2 separate regions of the Homo sapiens genome follow, and region 2 is linked to region 1. Evidence: promoter capture Hi-C in 16 types of primary human blood cells and fetal thymus (Javierre and others, 2016). All regions are on one chromosome and are shown on one strand. Each heading gives the region's core, a stretch centred on a gene start or on the middle of the fragment in contact. The rest is flanking DNA. Distances are from core to core; before and after follow the strand shown. Region 1 holds the start of UBE2O (ubiquitin conjugating enzyme E2 O). Region 2 has its middle 2.2 kb from the start of ST6GALNAC1.

Region 1 (4,096 bases), core at 1,174-3,673:
CTCCCGCCTCAGCCTCCCGAGTAGCTCAGGTTACAGGCATGCGCCACCAAGCCCAGCTAATTTTGTATTTTTAGTAGAGACAGGGTTTCTCCATGTTGGTCAGGCTGGTCTCGAACTCCTGACCTCAGGTGATCCGCCCGCCTCGGCCTCCCAAGTGCTGGGATTACAGGCATGAGCTACCACACCCGGCCGTTGTTTTCGATTTAACTCCAAAATAGGTATTTCAAGTCAAACTCTGTATAATTACACATAGTGCAGGAGGCAAACGGAGCATAACTGCAAACAAAGTTAACCACCAAAGTCAAGACGGACGGGAACAACAACTGATAAACATAGCGGCTCCCAGTAGTGAGCTGGGCCTACCTCCCTGAGTCCTAGGGCAGGAGGCCACAACACAGAGGATGCTGCAGTCAAATGAGTTGCGTTCCAAAAATCACGAATCTCTCAAATAGATGGGTGGTGAAAAACATTCTTAAAAACTCACAGAAAGACACCAGCAATCATCTGGTGTCACACAGTATACAGCAATAACCCTCTTTTACTGACACAATACTGGGTAATTTTTAACAAGCATTCTGTTGCACAAAAGTAATATTTTCCAAATACTCTTGTAAATGGACTGATAATTTTCCTTCCAAGTCTCAGAGCTGTTGCCTGATTCACATTTCTCTGAGGGGAAGCAGGGTCCTGTGTGTGGATTTGTGTCTGTGGATGTATGTGCATCCCCAACAAAAAGACCCCGCTGGTATCAGCAGTCACTTCTGCCTCTAGGAAATGGATCATGTGCTCTTCTCTGGAGTGGGGCCTTTTTCCTTCTCAAGCCGTTGTCACAGACCCCGCTTTGTAGTTTGACATGAAACCCCGTTCCTCTGTAGTCTTTGTCTCCCACTGTGTGAGAAACCCAGATCAACTTCCAAAGTGCCCTCCCCTGAAATCAGACCTCTCAACCTCCCAAGGACCTAAAACAGCGTAGGCCTGATTCCTGCTTAGAAATGTTTTCTTGAAGGGGAGGGGAAGTAGGAGAGAAAGAAGGGGTGTGAGATACAGGGGGGTGTGTGTGTGTGTGTGTGTGTGTCAATTACTGATAGGAATTCACATTCTGGAAAACAAGCCACCAAACCAACCCGGGTTCAAGGTTTCGGGTTTATGATGACAAGCCTCTTTGTTTTGTAAAACTGCTATACTCACTAGCATCACCCCAAAAACCATACGGGAGTCAGATGTCTGCTTAACAGCTTCAGGTCAAGAAAAAACCTTCGGGTTTCCAAATTGGTGACTCCCCTCTACCCAGGGTTCTGGATTATTTTTTTCAAGGAGTCCATATGCACTTAGGAGTCATCAATCCCGGTCGCAGCTGTCAGAATCCTCCCCCCCAAGTACTATTCATACCGGGGCTCTGATTGCTAATGATTTTACTCACAAAGTTCCCTGCAGCAATTAAAAGGAGGCAGCAGGGTAAAACAAAAAGAGGCTGGGTGGCTTCACCATAATGCAGCCTGTAAGCTAGTGAACTTCTTGGGTTCGGCTGGGATTTTCACCTCTATCTTTGTTTTGGAATGCCCACAACCCCTCCCTGCACGGACCCGGCACGGCCTTCATTTCTGGATGCACAATGCAGTACCGAGCTCCTTGGGGGTCAGCAAAACGCCGCACTGGTGTAACGCCGAACGCGCCCCAGAACCTGAGTCCCCACGGGAGTCGGTCCACGTCTCTAAATCTCGAGGCCGACACCACAGCATAACATGTCTTAGAAGTCCCCTCAAGTCGGGAAGCCCAGGGCCCGCCCGGTCCCGGGCCAGCAGTGCCTGGCTGGCGTGTGCGCCCAGAGCTGCTGCAATGACTTTGCATGGAGTGTACCCTCCACTGGGGCTGTCCTCCCGCGTCGGCCACTGCAGTGGCACCGCTCCGGGCAGGGCCCTGCACGCCGTCCTTCCCTGGCCTCGGCCCGGCCGCCGACCCCCTGCCGCCCGCGCCGCCCAGCCCCCGCCCGCCGCACCTTGGTCTCCTTCACATGCTGCTTGACGCCCTCCGGGTACCACTGGACGCGCACGTAGCCGCGGCGCAGGGGGCTGGCCCGGCCCTCCTCGTGGCCCGCGCCCCCGGCCTCGGAGCACCCCGAGCTCCCGCGGCCCTCCTCCTCGCCCTCCGAGTCCGAGTCCTCGCCGTGGATGAGGCGCACCAGCCCGAAGTGCACGGAGCCACGGTAACGGCCCGACACCAGGTCGTGAGAAAACAGCAGGCGCTGCGAGCCGGCTTCTGGGCCGGAGTCCGAGGACGGCCCGGAGGCCGAGTCCGAGGCGGGCGCCGGCGCCGGGACGGGGGCTGCGGCTGGGGCCGGGACTGCCTCCGGGGCTGGAGCCGGGGCCTGGGCTGGAGCGGGAGCTGCGGGCGTGGGGGCTGCGGGATCCGCCATAACTGCTCTGCGCGAGTCTCGGGCGGCGGCGGCGACAGCGGCGGCGAACGAGGCGCGGGGAGGCGGGACCAGCGGGCGCCGGGGGCGGGGCCATAGCGCGCTGACGTGTCCCTGCGTGGCGCCGTCGTCAGGGAGCCGGGATGCAGTTGCTAGGAGCCACCGCCTCGTCGCTAGGGGACGCTGAAGATGCCGCGGGGGGCGGGGGCAGGATGGAATCCACTAAGAAGGGGCGAGACCAGTGAGGATTCAACTAAAGGGAGCGAGAAGGGGCGGGGACCCGGGAGGAGGAAGTGGAGTGGCCACCGAGGAAGAGGGGAGTGGTCGGGGTGGGGCACAGGATGGTGGAGAGACTGTCAACAACTTTTAATGAGCTCCCTTGGCGTCCTAGCCTAGCCCCCAGGCACTGGGAGCATTGCAGAAAGAGAAAGATACTGTCCCTGTCCTCTAGGTGTTTCCAGTCTAGTTGGGGAGACAAAACAAATACACATTAAATAGATAACAAACAACTCCAACTTGTAAGGCTATAATAGATACGTGTAGAGCATATGTATAATGCACTGTATTCAGGAATTCCAAGCAGTTCGAACGTCATGACCCCTCAGAAGTTGACCCAGAAGCTGGTGAAGGAGGCCCAGAGAAAGGTAACAAAAGGATCAGTGGTCCCAGTGGTTTGGCTACAAATCCATGCAGATAAATTCAAAGCTCCCTGAAGCCAAGAATGAATGGCAAGAGGTAGTATAGTAAGGTAGCTAAGAGTGGGGACCACGGATTCCAATTTTTGGCACTGCCACTTACTAATCTATAAAAATAGGCACACTGATTAACTTATTTTCATCTTAATTTGCTCATCTGTGAAATAGGGATGATAATAGCAATACTCATCTCATTGGGCAATTGGAGGATTAAGTGAAGTAGAACAGTGCCTGGCATTTAGCTCCTTCGATAAGCTTAACCATTGTTGTACTATTTCCAAACTCCCTGCCTAGACTAAATTCCAGACTGGCAGAACTGTTATGGTCTGCTCCATATTGTCATTTTAAAATATAAAAAGTAGGCCGGGCGCGGCAGCTCACACCTGTCATCCCAGTACTTTGGGAGGCTGAGGTGGGCGGATCACGAGGTCAAGAGATTGAGACCATCCTGGCCAACATGGCGAAACCCCATCTCTACTAAAAATACGGAAAAAAAAAAAAAATAGCTGGGCGTGGTGGCACATGGCTGTAGTCCCAGCTACTCAGGAGGCTGAGGCAGGCAAATCGCTTGAACCTGGGAGGCTGAGGTTGCAGTGAGCCCAGATCGCGCCACTGCACTCCACCCTGGGCAACAGAGCAAGACTCTGTCTCAAAAAAATAAATAAATAAAAATAAATAAAATATAAAAAGTAACTCTAGGGCCAGGCGTGGTGGCTCATGCCTGTAATCCCAGCACTTTGGGAGGCAGAAGCAGATGGATCACCTGATCACCTGAGGTCAGGAGTTCAAGACCGCCCTGGCCAACATGGCGAAATCCCTTCTCTACTAAAAGTACAAAAATTAGCTGGGCGTGGTGGTGTGCACCTGTAGTCCCAGCTACTTGGGAGGCTGAGGCAGGAGAATTGCTTGAATCTGGGAGGCAGAAGTTGCAGTGAGCCGAGATCATGCCACTACACTCCAGCCTTGGCAACAGAGCAGGACTCTGTCTCAA
Region 2 (4,096 bases), core at 1-2,500, 190 kb after region 1:
TTCAAACATGTTTACCTTCCTTTTTTGTCTTTGAAGCCAATATCTGAAAGTCAAGCTTTATGAGAAATATAACCACATTATATGCAGTCTCATCTTGGTCAGGTTACTTAACCCATCTGCCGCCATATAAATGGAAAAAAGCAGTTATCTTCCTTTTGGGATTATCATGAAGACACCTTGAGGCCACCATGCACAGGGCTTTGTTTGTGGTAGGCACCCAACACACATGTTCAACACTTTAGCTCAACCTTCTCTGTTTCTCTTCTGAAATCATGACCATTACAACAATGACCAGCACGTATGAGGGCTCACTCTGAGCTGGGCAGTGGGGAGTCTTCACAGGCACTCATGGAACCCTCACAGCCACTCTAGGGGCTGGGTACTGTCATCACCTCCATTTGACAGAGGAGGAAATGGCCTCCAAGAACAAGCTGCCAGCCCAAGAGCACATGGTGAGCCACTGGCTTGGGGTCCAGATCCAACTGACCTAGAGATTGCATTCTTTTTTTAAGAAATAGAGATGGGTCTCAGTATGTTGCCCAGGCTGGTCTCAAACTCCTGGACTTAAGTGATCCTCCCACCTCAGCCTCCCAAAGTGCTGGGATTACAGGCATCGGCCACCATGCCCAGCCATGATTGCATTTTTCTTTCTTTTTTTTTTTTGAGACATTCTCACTCGTTGCCAGCCTGGAGTGCAGTGGCGCAATCTTGGCTCACTGCAACCTCCGCCTCCCGGGCTCAAGTGATTCTCCTGCCTCAGCCTCCTGAGTAGCTGGGACTACAGGCACCCAACACCACACCCGGCTAATTTTTGTATTTTTAGTGGAGACGGGGTTTCACCATGCTGGCCAGGATGGTCTCGATCTTCTGACCTCATGATCCACCTGCCTCGGCCTCCCAAAGTGCTAGGATTACAGGTGTGAGCCACCGTGCCTGGCCGATTGCATTCGTATCCACTGCTTAGTAGCACCTACGAGAAATCATTAACTCTACCTTGATCAAAGCAATGCAAAACAAAACCCACATAATTCTTGGGAAAAAAAAGTACACCTCAGAGGAAAAACATCAAGACCATTTGTAGAAAACTTTAAAAATTCAGAGAAGCAGCCCTCCATAAAGTACTGTGAGTTAGTAATTTTATAAAAATATTGTCCAGGGTGTTGAACTGTGGGAGAGGTTTTGGAGCCTGGGCTCACTGTTCACACCTGGCGGTGGGCATTTCTCCTAACGTACAGTTTTCAGTTCTGTACACAAGGCTCTTGGCCTTCACCCATGGCACGCACCGATAAATGATTAAACCACCTTCCTCAAGGAGGACGAAAAAGGCAGGAACATACGTCTGAGCAGCTGAGGGTAATACAGACGACTGATGGTTTCCTTTATCCCCTACTGTACACTGCAACTCACAGCACTGTTTCAAGTCATGGTGGCAAGGAGAAACATCTCTGTTAGTACTGACTCAACCTCTCTCTTTCTCTCTCACCGTGCCTAACCTACAGATGCTCATATGTTAACTCTATAAACATTTTCTGAATTGATCTGTATCAAGTCATAACTCTTTGTCCTAACTGGCCCCTTATCCTGAGTTCCTTTATGCACTTGACATGTACAATTATATTCCTGTATCCTGGTGCCTGCTTGCAACGCTATGCAAATAAGTGCACAGTGAAAAGGCATGTTCTTACCCACAGTACTAGTGTGACTAAATAGAGTATCTCTTTCATCGTGCCCTGTGTTCTGAAGAAGGCACTGGCTGTCAGTGCTCGCTGCCTTCCGCAGGGCATGGAGATCCAGCTGAGCTCCTGGGTGCAAGCTGAGCTACTGTGGACAATCTGTCCCTCTCGCCACATTAGAGGCAGGTTGAACTTGAAGACCTTGTGGCCAACTGGTGTGGCAGGATAATCCAGAGTCCTAGTTTCCTGGTTCTCAGGTTCCAGCCCACTGCTGCTGTAGCATGTGCCTGGGCAGAATGTGGGATCCAGAGAAGTGTGTGTTTTAGGAGAAATTGACTTTCCAATTATTTTGTTTTTGCTTTTTGAGACAAGGCCTCTTTCTGTCATCCAGGCTGGAGTGCAGTGGTGCAATCATAGTTCACTGAAGCCTTGAATTCCTGAGCTCACAAGATCCTCCTGCGGCAGCCTCCCTCCAAAGTAGCTGGGATTACAGGTGGGTGCCACCACACCTGGCAAATTTTTTTTGTAGAGATGGGGGGGTCTTGCTATGTCGTGCAGTCTGGTCTTGATCTCCTGGTCTCAAGCGACCCCACTTCAGCCTCCCAAAGTGCTGGGAGCACTTCATGTGAGCCGCCACGCCCAGCTGCCAATTATTTTTTAAACATCGTCACAATTTTGTGTTTGGTAAGATCTACCTTTCTCTCCTTTTTATTGTTTTATTTTATTTTATTCTCTTAAGCTCAATGGCAAAAACTTTTTCTCCTTTTTAAACTAAAGCTTTGAGCTTGAGTCTTTGAACTTTAGTATACATCAGCTGATGGGACATGTGAGAACTTACATGCAGATAAGAGTTGTTAAAAGATAATTTTCAGTAAAAGGTAAAATCATTACTCAAATAGATAGAAGACATAAAAATGTGCTAAAGATTTGATTCTACTCATGAGAGGACCAGGCAGATATAATAACCAGTTCAAAAGAGAAGTGCATGAGCACAAAGTAATTTAGATTGTTTTTCATTTGCTTCTTTCAAGATTTTTCTCTATCTTTGGCTTTCAGTATTTTGACTATGATGTGTCTGTGTGGGTCTTCCTGCATTTATTCACTTGGAGTTTCTGGGATCTATGTATTAGTGTTTTTCAACAAATTTCAGAAGTTTTCAGGTATTATTTGTTTGAATATTTTTTTCTCTCTATCTCTGCCTCTTGAGCATTCTTTCCTAGGATGAGTATGTTGGTGTGCTTAACAGTATTCTACATTTCTCTGAGGCTCTGTTCATTTTTACTTATTATTTTTCGTAGTGTTCTTCATCTGTATTAATCTGTCTTCATGTTGGCTGATTCTTCCTTCTGCCAACTCAAATCTACTATTGAGCCCCTCTAGTGAATTTTTCATTTTGATTATTTATTTTTCAACTTCAGAATTTTCATTTACTTAATAATTTTGTTCTATCTTTTTAGTGAACATTCTCTATTTCATGAGTCATTATTATCATGCCTTTCTTTAATCTTCAATTCTTTAAACATGGTTTACATTAAAAACTTTTTTTTTTGGAGACAAGGTCTTGCTCTGTCACTCAGGCTGAAGTGCAGTGGCGTGATGATAGGTCACTGTAACCTTGAACTCCTGGCCTCACGTGATCCTTTCTCCCCAACCTCCCTAGTAGTTAAGACTACAGGCTAATTTATTTAAATATATATATATTTTGTAGAAACAGGTTTTCACTGTGTTGCCCAGGCTGGTCTTGAACTCCTGGCCTTAAGCAATCCTCCTGCCTAGAACTCCTGAAGCATTGAGATTATAGGCGTGAACCACTATGCCTGGTCTACTTCGATTTTTAAAACATATTCATAATAGCTGCTTTGGAGTCTTTTTCCAATGTGTCCAATATTTAGGTCCCTTCAAAAGCACTTTTTATTGCCTGACTTCTTTTCCTGTGTATTTGTCACAGTTTTTTTGCGTGTCATAATTTTTTGTTGAAAACCAGACATTTTAGATAATATATTGTAGCACCTCTAGATGCTGAATTCCCCACTACACTGGGGCTTGTTGGTGGAACTGTTGTTTCCTTGGGCATTTGTTTATTTAATTCTGAACTAATTCTATGAAGCCTATTTCCTGGTTTGTGTGCAGAGTGTATAATTTCTGATGTTTCTGCTGAGTTTCTTTCTTTTCTCCTTTTTTTTTTTTTTTTTTTTTTTGAGACAGAGTCGTGCTCTTTCACCAGGCTGCAGTGCACTGGCGCGATCTCGGCTCACTGTAACCTCTGCCTCCCAGGTTCAAGCGATTCTCCTGCCTCAGCCTCCCGAGTGGCTGGAACTACAGGCGCGTGCCACCATGCCCAGCTAATTTTTGTATTTTCAGTAGAGACAGGGTTTCACCATGTTGGCCAGGATGATCTCAATCTCCTGACCTCGTGATCCACC

What was found. Contacts are between HindIII fragments. The CHiCAGO score rates a contact against its expected background, and 5 or more counts as called.
Region 2: a fragment that was not itself captured here is called in contact with the fragment with the promoter of UBE2O in region 1 in 1 of 17 cell types (endothelial precursors); the score reaches 5.2 in endothelial precursors.

Annotation. Positions count from the first base shown.
Region 1 is chr17:76,450,729-76,454,824 of GRCh38, forward strand. UBE2O (ubiquitin conjugating enzyme E2 O) reads right to left here and starts at 2,424. Exons shown (of 18, transcript NM_022066.4): 1 at 1,997-2,424. The coding sequence starts at 2,413. It also overlaps a transcript of AANAT not described here. RefSeq lists silencers at 1,776-1,975, 2,096-2,635, 2,430-2,598. The HindIII fragment of the contact is 7,923 bases long and covers 1-3,358 here.
Region 2 is chr17:76,643,876-76,647,971 of GRCh38, forward strand. No RefSeq gene overlaps it. Among named protein-coding and RNA genes, the nearest start is that of ST6GALNAC1, 2.2 kb to the left of the region's middle. The HindIII fragment of the contact is 2,395 bases long and covers 54-2,448 here.